4 separate regions of the Homo sapiens genome follow, and all the other regions are linked to region 2. Evidence: promoter capture Hi-C in human tissues and cell types (Jung and others, 2019). All regions are on one chromosome and are shown on one strand. The core of a region is centred on a gene start or on the middle of the fragment in contact, and the rest is flanking DNA. Distances in the headings are between cores, read along the strand shown.

What was found. The method cuts DNA at HindIII sites, captures the fragments that hold promoters and counts their contacts. A contact is called where the count stands out against the background at its distance.
Region 1: a contact is called between a fragment that was not itself captured here and the fragment with the promoter of ZDHHC14 in region 2, in 1 of the 25 tissues and cell types used here (dorsolateral prefrontal cortex).
Region 3: a fragment that was not itself captured here is called in contact with the fragment with the promoter of ZDHHC14 in region 2 in 1 of the 25 tissues and cell types used here (mesenchymal stem cells).
Region 4: a contact is called between a fragment that was not itself captured here and the fragment with the promoter of ZDHHC14 in region 2, in 2 of the 25 tissues and cell types used here (dorsolateral prefrontal cortex and mesenchymal stem cells).

What each region holds. Positions count from the first base shown.
Region 1 is chr6:157,715,744-157,718,467 of GRCh38, forward strand. No RefSeq gene overlaps it. Among named protein-coding and RNA genes, the nearest start is that of SNX9, 110 kb to the right of the region's middle. The HindIII fragment of the contact is 5,901 bases long and covers 1-2,724 here.
Region 2 is chr6:157,379,844-157,382,568 of GRCh38, forward strand. ZDHHC14 (zDHHC palmitoyltransferase 14) reads left to right here and starts at 1,347. Exons shown (of 9, transcript NM_024630.3): 1 at 1,347-2,423. The coding sequence starts at 2,179. It overlaps LOC124901446, which reads right to left and starts at 1,248. Exons shown (of 1, transcript XM_047419644.1): 1 at 1-1,248. The coding sequence starts at 858. RefSeq lists enhancers at 1-283, 895-1,506, 2,265-2,404 and silencers at 485-564, 725-1,614, 2,125-2,174. The HindIII fragment of the contact is 9,861 bases long and covers 1-2,725 here.
Region 3 is chr6:157,818,682-157,821,381 of GRCh38, forward strand. No RefSeq gene overlaps it. Among named protein-coding and RNA genes, the nearest start is that of SNX9, 3.2 kb to the right of the region's middle. The HindIII fragment of the contact is 3,766 bases long and covers 1-2,700 here.
Region 4 is chr6:157,837,026-157,839,843 of GRCh38, forward strand. All of the region lies in intron 1 of SNX9 (sorting nexin 9), which reads left to right. Among named protein-coding and RNA genes, the nearest start is that of SNX9, 15 kb to the left of the region's middle. The HindIII fragment of the contact is 7,828 bases long and covers 1-2,818 here.

The DNA.
Region 1 (2,724 bases), core at 108-2,607, 340 kb after region 2:
TGCCATGGGTTTCATCTGAGAGAAAAGCTCAAATTACATTAAACTCATGCGTAATTTGATGGTGTGCAAACCAAGGAATGAAGAAATCTTGCAACACAGTTTTGTTTTCCAGGGCTGAGTTTCCCAAACAGTGAATTAGAGCAACCCTCATGACGAAATTGGTCAGCCCTGGAATCCCAGCTGATCTGACCCAGGCTCTGCAGGGAGAAGCCTGGCCTCGGAGCAGCAGGGGCGAGGCTCTTTTCTTGCAGCCTGGAAAATAGCCCCACCCAGTCAAAGAACTAGTGAGCCATTTCCCCAAAAAAGGATCCCAGGCTCTCCCCAGTCAGAAGCTTAACTGAAGCCAGAGCTGGGTGGACCCTCGCCCACCAGGAATAGCGGCTATAATGACAAGGGTCATTGTGTGTTTTGCTGCTTAATGAAGCAGAGACATTCCTCAGGCATTTTGTCCTGGACACAGGTAGGAAGGAGGGAAGGCAAGGTAAGAAGAAGGTGGCTAAGGCTGCCTCCAACCCAGACACTAGGAAACATGGGGGAAGAGAGCAGGGGACCCAAATGTTTAAAAAACCATCATGCCGGCCATCACGTTTTAAGCAACTACTTAAGGCCAGGGCTGTCTTAGGTTCTTTTTTCATTTATAGTCACAATAGCCCTAGGTCCACTGGATGGACAAGAAAGCTGTGGCTGCAAGACTGATGCTGCTTGCCCAGGTCTCACACCTGGAGTGGCAGGGCTGGGCTCATGTTGAGGCAGCCACGTTCTTCCTGTGGCACTGGGAGGCGAGCCGTTGTCTGCTACGGGGAGACCAGCAAGAGAGAAGTGGTCAAGGTCTTTTCACAAGGAGGGAGGGATGCTTTTAGCATGAGCGATTTTACTTTGAAAATGTTCAAGCTTATATGGTTTTCTAGGGAGGTGTTTTGTTTTGTTTTTTTCTTAGTGCATTACATTCTAAATTCAATGCCCTGGAAGATACTGAATAGATGGGACAAAATCCATTAGGCTGGATGATTTATGGCTTTTCAGCATTTAGCAGGAGTGGCTTTCAATGTGAAATTGGTTGCGTGCAGCAAACCATTTTAGAAATTTGTCTCACGTTGCCCATAAGTGATTCATGCCATGCTTCCCATGCCTCTTTTTGGGAAAAGGGGAAACAATATCAACACAAAGCAAATTCAGTGTCCAGTACCTCTGTCCTTTGCGAACCCCTGCTCAGCAATCCCATGCCCGTCTGTCATCTCCGCACTTGCTGGGCTGCATTTTACTGGCCAAACAGCAATGGCTGTGACACCTGATCCATCTAGCCAGCGTTCGTCCCTTGGTTTTTTTGGTGTTTGTTTGTTTGTTTTGAGACAGGGTCTTGCTCTGTCACCGAGGCTGGAGTGCAGTGGTGCGATCATAGCTCACTGAAGCCGCAAACTCCTGGCTCAACAATCCTCCCATCTCAGTCCCCCAAGTAGCTGGGACTACAAGCATGCACCACCACACCAGCTAATTTTCATTTTTTGTAGAGATGAGGGTCTGGCTGTATTCCCCAGCCTGGTCTAGAACTCTTGGGCCTCAGACTCCCAAAGTGCTGCTATTACAAGTGTGATCCACCCCACCCAGCCTAGCTAAGTTACTCTTTATCATTCCTGCTCCTTTAAGTGAAAGAAGCTTGTGCTCGGCTGGCCCGCCCTGCTCGGGTCAGAGTGCATGCCTGCTCTACCTCTCTTCCAGCCTGAGGAGGGAGAAGTACCCCCTTCTCCCACACCACAGTGCCCACCCCCTGCTCAGAGCCATGGCTCCACCCTTATTTTATTTACTGCCTGGTGCTCACTAGGTAGGAAGCATCCAGAAGGAAACCAGGTTGTAAGGAACAGTCTTGCCTCTGCAGCTCCTAACACCAAGGTCTTACGCACAGGAAGTGCTCCATAAATGTTTTCTTGAAAAAGTAGGTCACGTGCAAGGAACTGAGGCTGAGCCGGGCGTGTTTAAGGATGGGCCTTCAAAGCATAGCTATAGAAATGCCACTCAGGTTTGGCATGAGCCTCTTATTTTTTTCAAAGTCTTTTTTAGTTTTATTAAATGTTTTATTTTTATGGATTTAGGGGTACAAATGCAGTTGTTTTACATGAATATATTGCACAGTGGTGAAATCGGGGCTTTCAGTATGCTCATTACCCAAATAGTGTACAATGAACCCAAGAGGTGATCCCTCACCCCTCCCACCTGCCCACCATTTGGAGTCTCCAGTGTCTATTATTTCCCTCTGTATGTCTGGGGGTACCTACATATAAGTAAGAAAGTGAAGTTTTGGATTTTCTGTTTCTGGGCCATTTCACTAAGGATAATGGCCCCCAGTTCTATCCATGTTGCTGCAAAAGACAATATTGCATTCTTTTTTATGGCTGAGTTGTATTCCATGATGTATGTATGTACCACTTTTTAATCCAATCATCTGGTGATGGGCACTTGGGTTGATTCCAGGACTTCGCTATTGTGAATACTGCTACAGCTGACAGTCCAGGTGTCTTTTTTATATAATGATTTATTTTCCTTCAGGTATATAACAACCAGTAGTAGGATTGCCAGATCCAAGGGTAGTTCTATTTTTCCTTCTTTGAGAACTCTCCAATTTTCCACAGAGGTTGTACTAACTTCCATTCTCACCAACAGTGTATGAGCGTTTCATTTTTCCCACATCCTTTGGGGTCCTCTTTGAGCTCAGATCCTATATCCCTCTTT
Region 2 (2,725 bases), core at 97-2,596:
TTGGGAGCTTTGTGATGTTTGGCCAGTAGTTAAGCTTTCTCTAAGCTGGATACAATAATGCCTCACCGGGTTCCGGCGAAGATTAGACAAAGAACATGTGTAACGTGCAAACTGCCCAGTACAGAGAAGGCACCGTTCCCCACAACCCCCTTTGTTGGTTCCCATCTCCCACCACCTAGCCCCAGAACGCCCAGCACCACGCCTCTCCTGCCCTTGTCGCGGGGGATGCAGGGACTTGTAGTTTCTAAGGCCCCGAGTCGTGCTTCTCCTCGGCGCAGGCCTGCGGGCGGAAGAACTACACATCCCAGTGGGCTGTGAAAGGAAAGTGGGGCTCGGGAAATTGAGCATCCCTGCCCAGCTGCCTTCGTTTTCTGCGGCCCCGGGGCTATGCCCACCTCTGCGGGGGCTCGGACCCGCGGCAACGCCTGGGAGGGCGCGAGCGAGCAGAAGCCCCAGGCTCCGGCCGTCCCAGGGCCGCGCCCGCAGCTCCTCCTGGGCTGTCGGGTGGGAAGGGGGGAGGCGCAGGCGGGAGAGGAGAAGCACGCGACCCCTCCGCTGCCGAGGGGGCTCCACGGGGGAATGGAGGGAGAAATAAAGCGAGCAGCTGTAAACGTCCGTGGGGAGAAGTGGAGACCGAAAGAGCTGGGCGGCAGCAACCCAAAACCTGGCCTCCAAGGGCTTATACTCCGGGAGGGAGGCCGGGGCCGGAGGGGACCCTGACCGCTTCCTCTGCCCTTCTTTCTCGGCCCGGAAGCCGGCCGAGCCGGGCCCCGAGACCCTCGCCCGCAGCCCGGTCCCGAAGTCAGGCCGGCCTAGGGCCGCCCCACCCCATCCTGGCACCCGGCACCCCCAGCCCATTTCTCGGGCATCACCAGAGTCCCCGGGCGACGCGACCACGCGCCCAGCTGGGGAGGAGGAAGAAGGGAGGCGCAGGCCGGGGAGGGTCACCTCCGCGCCGCGGCTCCTCAGGTCCCGGGGAGTCGCCAGGAGTGGCTTGCCGGTGGCCGTGGGAATGAGCGTGTCCCGAGGCGGCAGCTGCTGCGCGGGATAAACCCGGAAGAAGCCGCGAGACGGACTGAAGTCGGCCAGGAGCGCACTGCGCGGCGGGGCCGCGGGCGCCCGACCCCATCCCTACTTGGGCGATGCCACAGGGAGCCCCGCGCCTTCCACACCCCAGGGCGCCCGCCCGAGGGGGCTGGGGCTGGAATCTCGCTGCGCCGGTGCCCTGGCTTCGCGGGCGAGGAGGAGGAGGAGCAGGAGGAGGAGCCGCGGGTGAGGCGCGAGGCCACCGCCCACCCGGCCCGGAGGAGGCGGACCCACTCGGAGCGCCGCGCGCGCGCCGGGCTGAGCCTTGCAAACAAGTGTCTGTGCTGTGTCCCCGCGGCCCTCCTCGCGCCGGGGCCGCTTCCTCCGGGTAGGAGGGAGCAAGGGAGCCCTCGCCGCGCGGCCCGCGAGCCGCCGCCGCCCTCGGCCCGCGCATCCCCGCGCGGGGGCCGCGGATTCGACTAGGCTGCCAGGCGCAGCGACACCGGGTCGCGGTGCGAGCGGCGCCCCGGCTCTCGCCGAGAGGCTCCTGACAGAAAAACGTGCGTGGTTGTCCCCACCCCTGGGAGGGGTTGCCGGTGCCGCGCGCGGCCGCCCAGTCGCCAGCGCTCTCTCCTGGGAGGATCCGCTGCCGGAGGAAGGAGTGGACCCAACCTGGCCGCGCCGCAGAAGTGGCTCCCGAGGAAGCCGGCGCCGGGGCCGCCGCCTCGTGTCCCCTCGGGGCGCAGTGCTCGGGGGTCGGCGGGCCAGAGCCGAGGCGCGGCCGGGGAGCCGGGGGCTGCGGGGCCGAGCGGGCAGCCGCGCGAGGGGGCGGGCGCTCGGCGACCCGGGGGCCGGCCGGGCTGAGCCCCGCGCCCCGGGACGCGGGCTGGAAGCGACGGAGGAGTGCTGCCGCGGGCTGCGGACCAGCGCCGTCCCCTCACGGAGCGGGGATTCTGCTATGACAGTTGGGCTCCCCGGAGGGTTAACCTGGGTGTCCTCGGCAAAGTTGTCGCCGAGCCGGGAGCCCGTGTAGGGGCCGCGGCGCCGCGGCTCGGGGGGCGGCCGGGCGGCCGGCGGCGGTCGTGGCTCGGCGGGGCCCGCGCGGCCGGGGGGCTCCTGGGGGTGTGCGCCCCCAGCCGGCTGCCCTCGTGGATGCCTCCCGGCGGCGGCGGGCCCATGAAAGACTGCGAGTACAGCCAGATCAGCACCCACAGCTCCTCCCCCATGGAGTCGCCCCACAAGAAGAAGAAAATCGCGGCCCGGAGGAAATGGGAGGTGTTCCCGGGAAGAAACAAGTTCTTCTGTAACGGGAGGATCATGATGGCCCGGCAGACGGGCGTCTTCTACCTGACGCTCGTCCTCATCCTGGTCACTAGCGGACTCTTCTTCGCCTTCGAGTAAGTGGTGGCGACCGCTCCCCCGACGCCGCACTCCCCTGGTCTCCCCTGTCCCCCGCCCCTCCTCGGGCTGCTTTCGTTTTCTAGAAGTCTTATCTACTGTAAATTGTTATATAATGCCAGTCTGCGCTCCCTCTTTTTTCTTTTAAAGGTCTGATTGCTTTTGGGCCCCCGGAAAGAACGCCGTTCTGGGCTGGGCTTCTGGGAGCAGGGAGGGAAGGGGTCCACTTGCAAGGGGGGCCAGGCCTTGCCAATCCAGGTGGCGGATGGGACCCAGCAGGTGGGGCCGCCGGTCCCTGATC
Region 3 (2,700 bases), core at 53-2,552, 440 kb after region 2:
CAGGGATCCTACAGGCTGGGACTTCATTTGGGAAGCCAACTGGTGAGCCAATCTTCTCTTGCTGCCCTCACCTCACAGCTCAGTCCTTCTGGGAGTCGGAACTACCCAAACTCAGCAAACAGTCTAGTATAGAACCTTGAGCAAACGGTTCCTGTTCCAGCCTAACACCGCCTGCTGCTGCCACCTCTGCCATCCATGCAGCCTCCCTAGCCTCCAGTCTCTCTCTGCCCATGCCAACTGTCCCTTCCTGGACTGCTCAGGTCCTAGCAGTCAGATTTCTGCTCAATTTCTAGTTCTGGACACTATGTCCCGTTACTGTTTACGGCTCTGTGTCTCCCAGACGATGGAGAAAGAAATGTGACTTAGTCAAAATGGAACAAAAATGAAAACCAACCAATCAGCTAACCAACTAAAACAAACATAATTTTAAAACCATACACTTTTCATACATACATTCAGCTAGTCTAATGCCAAGGGGAAACCTTATAGGAAAAAACCTCTCCTGCTTCTCTTTATTCCTATAAAGATTCTTCAGAGCACTTATAAAAGCACCTGGCACATTAGACATTTATTTGTAGTTTATTGACTTCCCCCACCCTCTACAGATTGTTAAGTTCTAAGAGAGCAGGGACTTTTGTCTCCCTCACCTGTAACAGCATCCAGTCCAAGGTGAGGACGTCATACGTTTATTAGGATTGGAATGGCACCAGCTGCACTCCTTTCCACGTTTATTTTCAAGGTCACCCCAAGGTTTTCTTTAACCTCATTAAATTCATGCCCTAAAGTGAGAGGAGGTATCCCCTTGTGCCAGACCCAGGCTGACTCTGTATTGTTACACATTATTCTCATCCTCCGATCCTTACATTAGGTGACCATCACACATTTTCACTCCGTTCCACATTAGTTCCCATAGTTGCACTTTCCCATGCTAGTTTCCCATTAGTTGACCAAGCATTTAGTTGGGCTCTGAGCTCTTAAAAACCAAAGGAGAATCTAATTTTGAATAAAAACACCTGGCCATACTGAACAAACGCAGGGAAGAGGTGGTGGTCATTATTTTCCTGTCCCCCCAGCTGTGTGGCTGGACGAAGCTTCCTGTGAATCCTAATCACTTTACCTCCTGTGGCATGATTCAAAAAAAAAAAAAAAAAAAGCAGCTAGAGTACAAAGCCTAAACAGAGTGGCTCTGTTGCTCTGCCTCCAGGTCTTTTTCTTTTGAAAGTGCAATCTAGTAATAACCAAACGCAGTCTGCAAATGCAAATCCAATTGCTTAACTAATTGTGTTCTCACCCCTGGAGTAATGGAAGTTCATGCTGTAGAAGAAAATCTGAACTTAGCATGGCCCAGGGTTCTGGGTTCTGGGTTCTAAAGGCAGGCCTGCGTAGAGAATCAACTCTAAGGAAGCTCGCTCAAAGGACGGAGGTGGACAGAAGAGAGATATGCATGGTTGATCAAGTGGGAGCAGAAGACAAACGCCACCACCGGGTGCAGTGGCTCACGACTGTAATCCCAGCACTTTGGGAGGCTGAGGCAGACGGATCACTTAGGATAAGGAGTTTGAGACCAGCCTGGCCAACGTGGCAAAACCCTGTCTCTACTAAAAATAAAAAATAAAAAATAAAAAAAAACTTAGCCAGGCATGGTGGCAGGTGCCCGTAATCCCAGCTACTGCGGAGGCTGAGGCAGGAGAATCACTTGAACCTGGGAGGCGGAGGCTGCAGTGAGCCGAGATTGGGCCACTGCACTCCAGCCTGGGTGACAGAACAAGACCCAGTCTCTCTCTCTATATACAAATATATTCTATGAAAGTGGGTCTCCTCTATAACATTCATGAAGTAATGTTGATTTTGACTGACGTATATAAAAATAAAACTCCTAAGTTTAGCAGTATTTACTGGAGATATACTACCCAATTCATTACTAAAAATGTGAAAAAGATTTTAGTTATGTTCAAGATCCCTTCGGTGTGGCTTATTGTGAAAGTGCACATGTTTATCTCTTTTTTTTTTTTTTTTTTTTTGAGTCGGAGTCTTGCCCAGGCTGGAGTGCAGTGGCTCGATCTCGGCCCACTGCAACCTCCGCCTTCCGGGTTCAAGTGATTCTCCTGCCTCAGCCTCCTGAGTAGCTGGGACTACAGGCGCGTGCCACCATGCCCAGCTAATTTTTGTATTTTTAGTAGAGACGGGGTTTCACCATGTTGGCCAGGATGGTTTCGATCTCTTCACCTCGTGACCCGCCCGCCGCAGCCTCCCAAAGTGCTGGGATTACAGGCGTGAGCCACAGCGCCCGGCCATGTTTATCTCTGTTTATGTACTTTTTCATTTGTTTTTCACAGTCTTGCTCTTTTTAAAACAACAACAACAACAAAAAACTTCTAGAAATGAGGTCTCACTATGTTGCCCAGGCTGGTGTTGAACACCTGGGCTTAAGCAATCCTTCCACCTTAGCCCTCCACCATTACTTCTAAAAAATAAAACCAGGGTTATGAAATTGTTCTGGTGGGAAAAGCTTGAAGTCTCTAGTCTTCTTGCTTTCATGGTGCTGGGTGCCCAGGATGACTATTTGCATAGGATTTGCCAGATGAGCATGTGGAAAGGCCTGTCTTCACAGGTGTGCCCCTAACTTTGCACCTTCCTATCAAGGGATGCATTGTTGAACGGCTGCAGAGAGAGCTGTACCCAGCCTTCACATTTAAAAGA
Region 4 (2,818 bases), core at 149-2,648, 460 kb after region 2:
ATCTGTGAGGCCGTAAATTGGGTGGCTGCACTAGCATGCCGTGTGCAGTGAACACTTGTGTCTTGCTTAAAGGATTATTTTATCTAACTGGGTTCATATGATGCAGAAAATCACAGATCCGTAAAATATTCTCAGAAGCTATTTAGTTTCTCGCCAACTTGTAGTGTTGTCAGTAACTTTTCAGTTCTTTTGATTGATCGTTGGTATTATATGCAAAATGTCTCAACACTGTTACAATCTCACATTACCATGGAGGCTGGTTACTACTCTTCCTATTGCCTTTTAAGTTAGCCAGAAAACATGCGATACAGTTTTGTGTGTTATTAAAACAGTAATCAGTCCAGATTTATTTGCATTGTATAATATGTTCCTACCGTGATTATATAATGAAAATAACTTTTAATTCACTAGGAGAGAAGAATCCTGTTCTTAAATTACTTATAAGTCAGATAATACATGCCTTTGTGTAAATCCAGTTTTTAATGTTATTTGTGTGGTAAGTACCCATACCTAATTTTGATGAATTTGAATTTCAGCGGCTTCATTTTTCCTGTTTGCCCACTTAGAAGCTTTAAGGAAGTAAAGAAACAAATGTTTGTCAAAGCTAGAAAAAAGAATGTAGTCCCCAAACTAGGTAAATCTACCTCTGAATAATCAAATCCACCCATGTATTATTATAGGACCCATATGCATGAAGGCATGGGCATGCTGTCTGTGTTCATATGACCTGTCTCTGCAGTCAGTAAGAAGTAACGGGTGTCTAAATAAGAGAAGGGCAGCAGATCGTGAAGCCGTCGTTGGCATTTAAACAAGGTGGCAACTGAACTGCACTGTTCAGTTTCTTGTGGGTTCCGTGAACAGCATATGCTGTACCATTAATTATGGAAGGAATACATGTAATTGTTGGCTGTGGTTAACATTAGAATATTATTATGCATGAACATCAAGGGATATTGACAGAAATATTCAGTATGCTACATTGCTTCCAAAAATCAAATTTTGTTTGTTTTTTTGAGACAGAACCTCACCCTGTTGCCCAGGCTGGAGTACAGTAGCAGCTCACTGCAGCCCCAATTTCCCGGGCTCGAACAATCTTTCCACCTCAGCCTCCCAAGTAGCTGGGACTACAGGCATGCATCACCATGCCTGGCTAATTTTTGTATTTTTTATAGAGATGGTGTTTTGCCATGTTGCCCAGGCTGGTCTTGAACTCCTGGGCTCAAGCAGTCTGCCCACCTCAGCCTCCCAAAGTGCTAGGGTTACAGGCATGAACCACTGTGCTCGACCAATAATTTTTTTTTTTTTTATTCAACAGTCTCTCTCTAGAATTTATACTGTAAGTGAAAATGCATGTATATTTTTCTATCCAGAGAATTTACAGTCTAATGGAGAACACAGACACTTAGATATCTTCCATTAGGTGTACGGTTGCTGTGGTAAAAGTATGTATACATAGTGTACAGTGAGATAGCTCAGTATTTGGAGTCAGAAATGAGACCCTCTGACCTGTTTCCCTCCATTTAGCCATTGGAAACTTAAGAGTAAAAATAAATGTATATCAATAAAGAGCCATAGTGTGAAAATTTTATGTAGAAGTGCTAAATATTCTGACATTATGTTACTCATGATGTAGAAGAGGATCATTTCTCTAGTTTAGGGAATGGTGTTAAATACTTGAAGGCATGTTTAGTTTGAGGTCTCATTTAAAGAGCTCCTATTTTAGTGACTGACCTTGCAGGACAGAAAGTACATTTTAGAGAAGTGTAAATGTCCACTTTCCCTGGTTGTACTCTAAAATTTTATCTGGCACTGGTTAAACTAAGCCACTCTTAGGAACCAGTGAACATTCGAGGCAAGTAGTCTGTGCCCAGGCTTGTTCTAAATCCTTTGTGGCCGAGGACATAGCGTCTTGGAATGGTTAAAATGGATCTGCTCCTTTTGATTTCCAGGTAAGCTGTTGTTTGATGTGTTTTGTTTACCTGGTTTGCAATACCCAGAGCTTATTCTAGAGAAGGGATTCCCAGCTGGTGAATTGTCAGGGGATCTTTAACTCTTTAAAATGTATATAGATTCGGTTAATAAAATACAGGTTTACTTAAAAACGCTGGACTTCATAGTACCTTTTTGGTGTTAGGTATCAATGAATTGTCCTTGTGTATAATTACTGTTATATGTGTGTGGGGATGTATATATGTAATGAATTAATGTTGAGGTCATTGGCATTCCTCTGTGATTCATTATAGCTGTTACATAAAAGCCTATTTCCCCTATTAGTGTTTTGTTTCTCTTGAATTTTATATTTAGAATAAAAGAGAAATTATGTCTTTTATTAGAGATGCAATGAATGAATAAAATTAGTTCTACCTGATTATGAAGCATATGTATTTTCATGTAATGGTGATATAGCATAGAGATTAGGAGCCTGGGTTCAAATCCCAGTCCAGTTATTAATACATTACTTTGAAAAGTTACTTACTGCTTCACTTTCCTTATCTGTAAAATACAAATAATTGAATGGATTCAGGTGTGAATTCCATTGCACAGTCCAAGTGGGGGAAAAATTATAATTTTGCTTTTCTGTAATAATTTACAACAAATTACATCCCCGTCCTGCTGGGGAAGCAGACCTATAATATTTTAGTTCCCAGGCCACCGCCTCTTGCCCAGGGTGAAGCATAATTTGAGGGTGGGGATGGTAACCTAGTGCCATGGCCTTGAAGGTGTGACCCCATCTTGCCCTCCAGTCTCCTCTTTAGGCCTTTCCTCCTGCCCCTCAGTTTAGTAACTCTCTCCACCACTTCCTTGCTGTGCTGCTTGA